Regions from separate parts of the Homo sapiens genome. Here region 2 is linked to region 1. The links are contacts of gene promoters, found by promoter capture Hi-C in blood cells and fetal thymus (Javierre and others, 2016). All regions are on one chromosome and are shown on one strand. Each heading gives the region's core, a stretch centred on a gene start or on the middle of the fragment in contact. The rest is flanking DNA. Distances are from core to core; before and after follow the strand shown. Region 1 holds the start of OR1G1 (olfactory receptor family 1 subfamily G member 1). Region 2 overlaps CTNS (cystinosin, lysosomal cystine transporter).

Region 1 (5,764 bases), core at 2,397-4,896:
GGATGACAGAGTGAGACTCTGTCTTAAAAAAAAAAAAAATGCACTGAGCCCCACGAATCCACCCACTTCACCTAGAGCTCTGTCTTGGGAGGATGAGGAAGGCAGAGGCTAATAAACACATGCCTTGAGTGGTAATGGGGACTCTTGGTAGGGAGTAAGGGAAACATCACCTACTATGACCACATTTTGGCCAAGAACACGCAAGGGGGAGACCTTGGAGATTTCAGCGGCTGGCAGATAAAATGATTAAAGAAGACCACGTGGGCAGGTGAGAAGAACAAGAAGCTTGGGATTAAACAGTGGAGGCTGCATCCAGGCTCTGCCACTTGCTGGATGTGACTTAAGGCTCAAGGGATTCTTCGTTTTTCTATGAATGAAGGAAAGATACCCTTTTCTCATTAATGGAACATAACACTTTTAAGAATATTAATTATTTCCTTAATAAATGCAAAAAGTACCTTCCTACTTTGTTTTTTTACTTTGCATGTGATCTTTTTCTTTAAAAGAATTTTATTATTATTATTATACTTTAAGTTTTAGGGTACATGTGCACAACATGCAGGTTTGTTACATATGTATACATGTGCCATGTTGGTGTCCTGCACCCATTAACTCGTCAATGCTATTCCCTCCCCCCTCCCCCCACCCCACAACAGTCCCCAGAGTGTGATGTTCCCCTTCCTGTGTCCATGTGTTCTCATTGTTCAATTCCCATCTATGAGTGAGAACATGCGGTGTTTGGTTTTTTGTCCTTGCAATAGTTTACTGAGAATGATGATTTCCAATTTCATCCATGTCCCTACAAAGGACATGAACTCATCATTTTTATGGCTGCATAGTATTCCATGGTGTATTTTTAATTTAATTTGATCAAACCAATTATTCCTTTCCTTTCTTGTTTTCTTCACTGTTTTTTACTTAGAAAGTCCACCCTTGTCCTGAGAGTAAATATTGTGCTGCATTTTCTCCTGGTTGCTTTAGAGTTACATCTGCAGGGAAAATGCTTTAACCATCTGAAACTTATTCAGGTAAGTGCTATTAGGTTGGAATTTAAATTAATTTTCCAGAGACTTAACCAGCTTGTCCCAGCATTGTTCGTTCAATCTCTTCTTCCTTTTGATTGGCAGTGCCACTGTTAGTAAAGCAAAGTCTGAGGAATACTGTGCTCTGCTTCTGGGTTTTCTGTTTTTTCCTTTGATGAATTGTATTGAGGAGAGAAGTAACATATACCACAGTCCCTGGGGCATCCACATACTAGCAGAAGATAGTTCGGTAAGACATAGCCATGTTCAGGCCAGGCACGGTGACTCACGCCTGTAATCCCAGCACTTTGGGAGGCCAAGGTGGGCAGATCACCTGAGGTCAGGAGTTTGAAACTAGCCTGGCCAATGAGGAGAAACCCCATCTTTACTAAAAATACAAAAAAAAAAAAAATAGCCGGGTGTGGTGGCGTGTGCCTGTAGTCCCAGCTACTTGGGAGGCTGAAGCAGCAGAATTGCTTGAACCCAGGAGGCAGAGGTTGCAGTGAGCCAAGATTCTGCCACGGCACTCCAGCCTGGGTGACAGAGTGAGACTCCGTCTCAAAAATAAATAAATAAGAAATATCCATGGTCAGAGAGAGAATAAGACATAAGATGCCACTATTGCCTAGTAAGTAGTAATTTTAGTGTACGTAACTAAGGCTTACAAATCCATAGGTTATATTAAACTCTGAAGGTAAAAAAAAGCGGCACAGGGAAACTGATTCCGTGGGTTAATCACTCAGCTGAAACACTGTTCCATCCCAAGAATTTCACCTAGAAAGAATGCATTTGTTTGGAACACTTATCTCTCTGTAACCGTAGTGTTTCCCTACATATTCCTATGGCCAGGACTCCATTAACTCAAAGCTACCACTGAACCTACTAACAAAAAGGTTGGCTGGGTGTGGTGGCTCATGCCTGTAATCCCAGCACTTTGGGAGGCCGAGGCAGGTGGGTCACCTGAGGTCAGGAGTTCAAGTCCAGCCTGGCCAATGTGATGAAACCCCATCTCTACTAAAAATACAAAAAAAAAAAAAAAAAAAATAGCCAGGTGTGGTAGCAGTGGCCTGTAATCCCAGCTACTCAGGAGGCTGAGACAAGGGAATCACTTGAGCCCAGCAGGTGGAGACTGCAGTGAGCTGAGTTCGTGCTACTGCACTCCAGCCTGGGTGACAGAGTGAGACTCCATCTCAAAAATCATAACAATAATAATAAAGGTTCAGGCTAATTCTTATGCCTGATATTACCTCTATAGCAAAGCCCCTTTCCATTCTTCCCACTCTTTCCATTCTCTGGGGTTTATGTATTTACATGATAGATTCATACTGAGCATCTGTGTTGTACCAGCCTCAAGGCTAATGCTAGATTTCAAAGCTGAGCCAATTAGGCACCATCTCTGCCTACTCCCAGTGATGCTCACAGCAGAATGAGGGACACTCATATAAACAGACACTCAGAATCCAAGGTGACACGTGCTGTGATGGGGGAGGCACTGCATTAGGAAGGTCACGAACCTGAGTTTCTGGTGAGAGGATGAGTTGGGAAAGACTTCCCAGAAGAGGTGACATCTAAGGTGAGACCTGAAGCTTAGCTCGTCTGATAAATGGGATGGGAAAAACTATTTCAGCCTGAGAAAGCCTAAAGGTGAGGGAGTATCTGGGCCTTTAAAATAATTGAAACTATGATTAGTGCATAAAGTGTGGAGTGGAGGAGGGAGTTTCATGAGGAACTGGGGATGTCTGTAATAAATGACGGTAAGATCCAGGACATTCAGCCGTGTTCAGTTTAGAGTTTATCCTGGGAGTAATGAGGAGTGTATGAAGGATTTTTCAAGCAGAAAGACAAGAGTCGAATTTGATTTTTAGCAAGCCTATTCTCTGTGTATTTAGAACAGCAGGTGGCAGGTGGGCATACCTGGGGGCATGGAGATCAACTGCCCAAATCCAAGTGAGAAATCACAGTGCCCTGAATGACATGAGCTGCAGCTGGGACTGATGGTGACCAGTAAACAGAGAGACGTCAGTAAATTGTAGCCATATTGAGAAGGTAAAATTGCCAGGCTTTGGTGGTGGTTGGATGTAGGCAGGGAGGGAGAAACGTGGGTCAATAATGACGCTCAGGTTTCTGGCCAGACCCGCTGTGTAGATAACAGTGATAATGATTTCCATGTTAGCCATGCTTTTCCCAATTCCAAAACCCCTTTCCAGGAGCTGTCTTTTTAATTATTGGTACAATGGGCTCATTTGACCTGTAAAATCTTGGGTTGTATAAATGTCATAGTTTCTACATGAACACTACCAGAGCAAAGCCAGCAAGCCCCTCCAGCCCAGCCCCAAAATACACATATTGGCTTAATGCTTATGGAATAAATTTAAAAGCCTCTCATTGCATTACAAACAAATCTGTGGTTTCTCATAGCACCAAGCACAGGAATTTGCAAATATTTAGTCGAACCCTATGAAATGGCCATTTTTGCAGGTCCCAAAGAGTCAAATAGTGGAGATTTCCTATGATCCAACCTCACACTAGAAGATCAACACTGGAATATTGCATAATTTTCAGAGTTCACAATCCAGGGCTTACCAACGTCACCCAATTAACCCAACTTTCTTCCTACAGACAAATGGAGGGGAAAAATCTGACCAGCATCTCAGAATGTTTCCTCCTGGGGTTCTCTGAGCAGCTGGAGGAGCAGAAGCCCCTCTTTGGGTCCTTCCTGTTCATGTACTTGGTCACGGTGGCAGGCAACCTCCTCATCATTCTAGTCATCATTACTGACACTCAACTCCATACCCCCATGTACTTCTTTCTAGCCAACCTCTCCCTTGCAGATGCCTGCTTTGTGTCCACCACAGTCCCTAAGATGCTGGCAAACATACAGATCCAGAGTCAGGCCATCTCCTACTCAGGGTGTCTACTACAGTTGTATTTTTTCATGTTATTTGTGATGCTGGAGGCATTCCTCTTGGCGGTCATGGCCTATGACTGCTACGTGGCCATATGCCACCCACTTCATTACATTCTGATCATGAGCCCTGGGCTCTGCATCTTCCTCGTGTCTGCATCCTGGATCATGAATGCCCTCCACTCCCTTCTACACACACTTCTGATGAACAGCCTGTCCTTCTGCGCAAACCATGAGATCCCACACTTCTTCTGTGACATCAATCCCCTCCTGAGTCTGTCCTGCACAGACCCCTTCACCAATGAGCTGGTGATCTTCATCACTGGGGGTCTCACAGGACTCATTTGTGTGCTTTGCCTGATTATCTCTTACACGAACGTTTTCTCGACCATCCTGAAGATCCCATCAGCTCAGGGGAAGCGGAAAGCCTTTTCCACCTGCAGCTCTCATCTCTCCGTGGTCTCTCTCTTCTTTGGGACTTCTTTTTGTGTTGATTTCAGTTCTCCCTCAACCCACTCGGCCCAGAAGGACACAGTTGCATCAGTGATGTACACAGTGGTAACTCCAATGTTGAATCCCTTTATCTACAGTTTGAGGAACCAAGAAATAAAGTCTTCCCTGAGAAAGTTAATCTGGGTTCGGAAAATTCATTCCCCTTAGTGGTAGTGACTTGACATCCAATATGGGGGTCTCCATGCACCTGCGTTCACCACAGTAAGCAGTGAAGAATGAAAGATGGAGAGAATCTAGAGACCTCTGTTCCAGTACCTACGATCTGAACCTGAAATATTCATGTCTAAGCTACAGGACTGCATCATAACCCATCATCAGGCCAATGTCACAGGTGAAGTTCTTACAATTATGTTCTAAAACCACAGCCATCCAGATGTATAATATAATGTCATGCCTTATTATATTTACTATAGTTAATAATATTGATGATTTAATAATGTTATTAGTTAATGCTTTTTAAACAACATGGGACAGCTCATGACTGAAATAAGGGAATATCTGGCTGGGCTGTTGTATAGGGCCAAGAATAAAATTCAGGGAAGGACGACCTTCCCCCAGCATCACTGTGATCCTGATCACTCGGATCCCCACCCACAGTGTTTCTGCCACAGGCACTGCCCGTATCTGTGATGCTCCCATGCTCAGTGATGAGGAACTGGGTCTAGGAAGGGCTTGATGGAGATGGCATCTTCAGACAGACTCACTGCAGTGTCTTACCAGGCCTCCAAGACCCATAATCCTCCTGCCACCTTAGACTTCATGTGAAAACCTCAGGTTCCTCTTCAGGGCAATTTTTTCCACACTCATTTCATCTCTGCAGCCCCAATGCTTACCACATGGCGTAATGCCTGGTACCATTGATAGGTGCTGAATCCCACTGAAATGGTTACAACTTAAAGTTAGGGGAAAAGAATGATTTTTATGGACACTTTATGCTCTCCTGCCTGAATGATTAAAGCCTCCTCCTAGTTGGTCTTCAGTCCTCAGTCTACCCGCCTTCCATCAACTCTGTACACCATAATCAGATTAATCTTCATAGGGTACCATTATATCACTAAGAGAAATGTCCAGTGGCTTGAAACTGCCTGCAGAATCAACTTCCAGCTGTTTACCGTAGCATGCGAGCCCAGTGCCACCAGTTCATAACTGATGTCCACAGTTAACCACACTCTTCCGTATTTCTCCCAAGGTCAACTCAGGCCAACGGTTTCAGAATACATTGATTATTGTGCATGGTTGCCAAAAACGACTTGGAAAGCTTTGTCAGTAGACGTTGTGGCAAGACTCTGTACAGTACGTTACAGCCACAACCAATACGTTTCTA
Region 2 (5,764 bases), core at 292-2,791, 520 kb before region 1:
CCCTGGGTTTAGAGGCCTGGAGTTAATCTGAAAGGCAGTGGGAGGCCACTCCAGGGGCCTGGACAGTTGTGGTAAGAGATGACTTGTAAGATTTGCAGGGGGAGGGTGTGCAGAGACAGAAGGAGCTGGGAGCGGAATGGCAGGCCTGCTAGGGGCCTCGGAACCAAAGCTTTGCTTTCAGGCCAGATCTCGCAGGAGAGGCGAGGAAGGGGGAAAGGCATAAAGAGAGAAGGAGAGGGTTCTAGGTCTTCTTCATCAGGGAATCCTCACGGCTGGGAGGCAAGGGAAGGACAAAGCAGCTAAGAGCAGAGAAGGCAGAGGCAGCCTCCCTGGCACAGACTGGACTAGGTCGCGACGTTTGTGCCTAAGCCAGCAGGTGGCAGCAAGTGAGACTCCCAGACAAGGCCCAGCATGAGCGGCATTCACCCGACGTGGCCACTCCTGCTTCTGAAAGCAACCTCAGAAGTGCCAACCAGCAGCTCAGCTCCCTGCCCCTTGACCTTCAGGGCTCTCTTCAAATACTTAGTCTTAGAAAGAATCGCTTTGAAATCTGGCCTCAACACCGGTCACACAGGACTCTTCCCATGCGGGGAAAAGACGCACGTCTCTGGGAGAAGCACCCCTTCCTTCTCCTGCCAGGGAAAGTGAGGACTCAGGGTGGGGGTCAGCCTTTGCGATCCCATCCTGCAGCCCGGGGCTAGCACCATCCCTTTTTCTAGGGCTTGTCTTACAGGTAAGAGGCAAGAATAGCGCATCTGAAATCTGAACAGACTGAGCCAGGGGTCAGCCCTGACCCAGCTGCGGGGCCTGAGCGGAGCTGAGCACAGCGCCAGGCCCAGGAACTTACCGCAGGGTGAGGCTGACGTTGGTCGAGCTGCCGTTCTCCAGCTTTACGACAGGAGGAACAGTGAGGCTGACGCTTGACTCTGGAAGGACCCAAATCAATGACATGAGGCACTGGGTCAGAGTTCAGGCCTGTGACAGAAAACTGGGCCGAAACCCCTGACATCTGAACTCCTGAGCTCTGACTCTCTGACGAGCCCTATTCTGTGATGGGACTGCAAACACAGGCCCTGGTTAGCTTCCTTCCCCACCTGCTGCCAGAGACAGAGATGGAGGAAAACAGGCCTGAGCAGGAAACGCCGGAGCGTCCTCCTCCCGCTGCGATGACAGGCTCTGAGAGTCTGCGGCTGAGTTAACCAGAGATTGTTAGAGAACCATGGAGCCCAAAAATCATTACAGGGGAATTCCAGCGTGACCTGGGAGCGTAAAAGGCAGCCGTGAACCACCTCTTCAGATGAAAGCACAGGGGTCTCCTCTGTTCATGAAGTCAAAATGGTCCTGAAGAACTGGGCCAGCCCCTTTCCTGCACTCTCAGAGAGACACATGGGCCCAGCTAATGAGTTTCTAAGGAGCCCTTTGGGGTCCCTTCCCAACCCAGCTCACCCTGGCACTGGTCCCCTTCCTGGGGCTGACTATCTGCGGGGTACTGGAGGAGGAAGGGTGAATAGTTGTTTCACTCTGAGATTTCTTCTTGGCATTAAGCTGTTAACTCAGAATCAAGTTGACAAACAGGCCCCCAGATGAGGGAAGAAGCAGATCTGGGTCTTAGGGTCTTAGAAAACCATCGTGGGGCTGGGCGTGGTGGCTCACGCTTAGAAACCTGGCGCTTTGGGAGGCCAAGGCGGGAGGACTGCTTGAGCCCAGGAGCTGGAGATCAGCCTGGGCAACACAGAAAGACTCTGTTTCTACAGAATATTTTCTTAAAAAAAGAAAGAAAACTGGGCAGGCGTGGTGGCTCATGCCTGTAATCCCAGCCTTTTGGGAGGCCGAGGCAGGTGGATCACGAGGTCAGAGGATCAAGACCGTCCTGGCCAACATGGTGAAACCCTGTCTCTACTAAAAATACAAAAAATTAGCTGGGTTTGGTGGCATGCACCTGTAGTCCCGGCTACTTTGGAGGCTGAGGCAGAGAACTGCTTGAACCTGGAAGGCAGAGGTTGCAGTGAGCTGAGATCGCTACTGCATTCCAGCCTGGGCAACAGAGCGAGACTCCATCTCAAAAAAAAAAAAAAAAGAAAGAAAACCCTCTTGCAAGGCCAACTAGCCCAGAGCACCGGACTGAGTAAGCCTCTCTTTGTGTGCTTCCTGTATTCTTTGTGCAGCCCCGTCCCAGCCTCTGCTCCCAGGGGTACTGGAAGGCTCATGCCACACCTGCCATCTCACTTCCCCTGCCTGATTGCCTTCAGGGTTACACACAGCCTGGGGTTATGGTCATGACTCTAGGCCGGGCGGGGAAGCAGGTGCATGACTGTGATGAGGAGCGTCTTTGCAACGGCAGAGGCTGCCAGCATGCCCGGTTCCCCGACCCAGACCCCGTCACTCAGACCCCCCAGGCCCAGTTCCCCCCACCCAGACCCTGTCACTCAGACCCCTCAAAGGCAGATGAATTGAGATCTGAAATTTTAGACGCTTGGGTTGGAAGGAAACTTTTTTTTTTTTTTTTTTTTGAGACAGAGTCTCGCTTTGTTGCCCAGGCTGGAGTGCAGTGGCATGATCTTTGCTCACTGCAACCTCTGCCTCCTGGGTTCAAGTGATTCTCCTGTCTCAGCCTTCCAAGTAGCTGGAATTATAGGCATGCAGCACCACGTCTGGCTAATTTTTGTATTTTTAGTAGAGATGAGGTTTCACCATGTTGGCCAGGCTGGTCTTGAACTCCTGACATCAGGTGATCTGCCTGCCTTGGCCTTCCAAAGCGCTGGGACTACAGGTGTGAGCCACCATACCTGGCCCGGAAGGAAACTTAAAGTTACCCAATTTGACCTCTGATTCTCCGCCTCAATACTCCTACCTGGTAGTTTCTCTTCCTCTGTAACCTCGTCTCCTCTAAGGAGATCACAGCCTGAAGCTTGCCCTGCCAGGCCAGGCTCTGCTACCCAGAGCCTCTCAGACCCTGAGAGCTGCCTTCTCCATGCTCAGCACATGTGAATACAGATGGAAGCTCTGTCCCAAGTCCGTAGGTCCCCACAGTCCACAATCTCCAGTCCCCTGCTGGCTGGCTGGGCTCCTCAGAACAGGATGTCCCCTGGCCCTTGCAGAGGCCAAGGTGCTCAGAGCGGCAAAAGGCAGTCCCTTCCTTATGTGGAGCCTCAGAGCCTGGAAGCCGCTGTGGCGAGTCTGCCCTTCTTTTTCAGGCTCACTGTTCTGAGGTCATTCTGAGGATTTCTTCTGGGCTTGCATAGCTGGGACTTCCTGTACCACCAGTTCAATTCTGCCTAGAGCTGAGGACCATGCCAGATAAGCAAGTCCCACAACCAGCCACTGCTCAGGACAGGATGCTGAAAGTGATGCTGGGCGGCCAGCCAGACTCTGGATCCCTAGGGCTCTGCCAGAGGTAGTGGAGGTCAAGGTGAGTGGGAGATCTACATGGCTACAGAGCTCCTACAATCTTTGCATATAGGAGGTTGAGGGCCGGGCACAGCGGCTCACACCTGTAATCCTAACACTTTGGGAGGCCGAGGTAGGTGGATCACCTGAGGTCAGGATTTGGAGACCAGACTAGCCAATATGGCGAAACCCCATCTCTACCAAAAAGACAAAAAATTAGGCCGGGCGCGGTGGCTCAGGCCTGTAATCCCAGCATTTTGGGAGGCCGAGGCAGGTGGATCACGAGGTCAGGAGATAGAGACCATCCTGGCTAACATAGTGAAACCCTGTCTCTACTAAAAATACAAAAAATTAGCTGGGCGTGATGGCAGGCGCCTGTAATCCCAGCTACTCGGGAGGCTGAGGCAAGAGAATCACTTGAACCCAGGAAGCGGGGGCTGCAGTGAGCTGAGATTGCGCCACTGCTCTCCAGCCTGGGTGACAGAGTGAGACTCCGTCTCAACAAAATAGAATAAAATAAAAAAATAAAATAGGAGTTTGTGAACACTCCAAGAACCAGACCAGAGAATGTTTATTCCCTCCTTCTTTAGCACCACAGAAAACTGAGGTGCTCAGCAACTGAGATATTGGGCTCCAAAGTCACGCAGTTCCATCCTGGCTCTGACACTTCCTAGCTGTGTGACCATGGGTAAGGTACTTACCCTCTCTGAGCCTCCATTTCCTTATCTGTACAGTGGGGAGAATACCAAGACCTATCTGAATGAGTCATGGTGAAGATACAATGTAGCAATGTTTGTAACATGTTTTCCACAAAGCCCAGATGCTAAATAATTGTTACTATTATTATCATCACATGATAACTGCAGGATATTTTTAGCCCAAGGTGGGAGGCAGTTAGGAAGCTGGCCCCCCAAGTCTAAAATCTTTACATTGTATCAGATTTACAAAATGAGTCACAACACCATCCTGAGTTCCTCCTAAAGAGAGTGATCATGGCTCACTGCAGCTTTGACCCCGCCAGGCTCAAGCCATCCTCCCACCACTGCCGCCTCTCACCTCAGTAGCTACGAACACAGGCATGCACCACCACACCCAGCTAATTAAAAAAAAATTTTTGGCCGGGTGCGGTGGCTCACGCCTGTAATCCCAGCACTTTGGGAGGCTGAGGCGGTCAGATCACTTGAGGTCAGGAGTTTGAGACCAACCTGGCCAACATGGTGAAACTCTGTCTCCACTGAAAATACAAAAATTAGCCGGATGTGGTGGCGCACGTCTACAAACCCAGCTACTTGGGAGGCTGAGGCACTAGAATCGCTTGAACCCGGGAGGCAGAGGTTGCAGTGAACTGAGATCACGCCACATTGCACTCCAGCCTGTGCAACTGAGTGAGAATCCGTTTAAAAAAAAATTTTTTTTTGTAGAGATGGGGTCTCACTATGTCGCTCACGCTGGTGTCAAATTCCTGTGCCCAAGTGATCCTCCCTCTTTGGCCTCCCAAAGTGTTGGGATTACAGGTATGAGCCACCATGCTTGGCCAGGTTTTTAAAATTAATTCTTATAGGCCTCTCTCCCACTCTGCACCTACCCAATACCAGCTACTCTGCTATACACCGAGCTCCCATTTTCTAATTATTACAAAAGTGAGAGGTAGGCATTTTTTTTTGTTTTTGAGACAGAGTCTTGCTCTGTCGCCCAGGCTGGAGTGCAGTGGCACGATCTCGACTCACTGCAACCTCTGCCTCCCGGGTTCAAGCAATTCTCCTGTCTCAGCCTCCCGAGTAGCTGGGACTATAGGCGCCCGCCACCACGCCCGACTAATTTTTTGTATTTTTGGTAGAGACGGGATTTCACCATGTTAGCCAGGATAGTCTCGATCTCCTGACCTTGTGATCCACCCTCCTTGGCCTCCCAAAGGGCTGGGATTACAGGCGTGAGCCAACGCGCCAGGCCGAGGTAGGCATTATTATTCCTATTTTACATTTCAGGAAACTGAGCATTCTAAGAGGAAAGGTTTCTTGCCCACACAGCTTGAAAATGGTGAGGGCAAGATTCAAACTTAGGCCTGTCTAGTCCAAAGCCCAGGTTCTTGCCATGAGGCTGCACTGCCTCAAGATTCCACCCAGAGAAGTCAGAGACAGACAAGTCTGAAGGCCAATCATCTCATCTGTGGTCCTTCATAATTACTACCCAAAGCAAAGAGAAGAAAGAAACAGCAAGGGCAGAATGAGGTTGGAGATTCAATTCCAGTGACTTGATTTTATGGTGGCTTCCATTCTTCTTTCCTTTTTTCTTTTTGAGATGGGGAATTGCTCTGTCACCCAGGCTGGAGTGCAGTGGCGTGATCTCAGCTCACTGCAACCTCCTGCCTCCCGGGTTC

Evidence for each region. Contacts are between HindIII fragments. The CHiCAGO score rates a contact against its expected background, and 5 or more counts as called.
Region 2: a fragment that was not itself captured here is called in contact with the fragment with the promoter of OR1G1 in region 1 in 1 of 17 cell types (M0 macrophages); the score reaches 5.0 in M0 macrophages.

Annotation. Positions count from the first base shown.
Region 1 is chr17:3,125,433-3,131,196 of GRCh38, reverse strand. OR1G1 (olfactory receptor family 1 subfamily G member 1) reads left to right here and starts at 3,646. Exons shown (of 1, transcript NM_003555.1): 1 at 3,646-4,587. The coding sequence starts at 3,646. The coding sequence ends at 4,587. The HindIII fragment of the contact is 3,090 bases long and covers 2,611-5,700 here.
Region 2 is chr17:3,642,606-3,648,369 of GRCh38, reverse strand. It overlaps CTNS (cystinosin, lysosomal cystine transporter), which reads right to left. Exons shown (of 12, transcript NM_004937.3): 4 at 848-926. It overlaps LOC105371493 (a long non-coding RNA gene), which reads left to right. Exons shown (of 6, transcript XR_007065579.1): 5 at 3,195-3,409. Among named protein-coding and RNA genes, the nearest start is that of CTNS, 8.7 kb to the right of the region's middle. The HindIII fragment of the contact is 2,739 bases long and covers 172-2,910 here.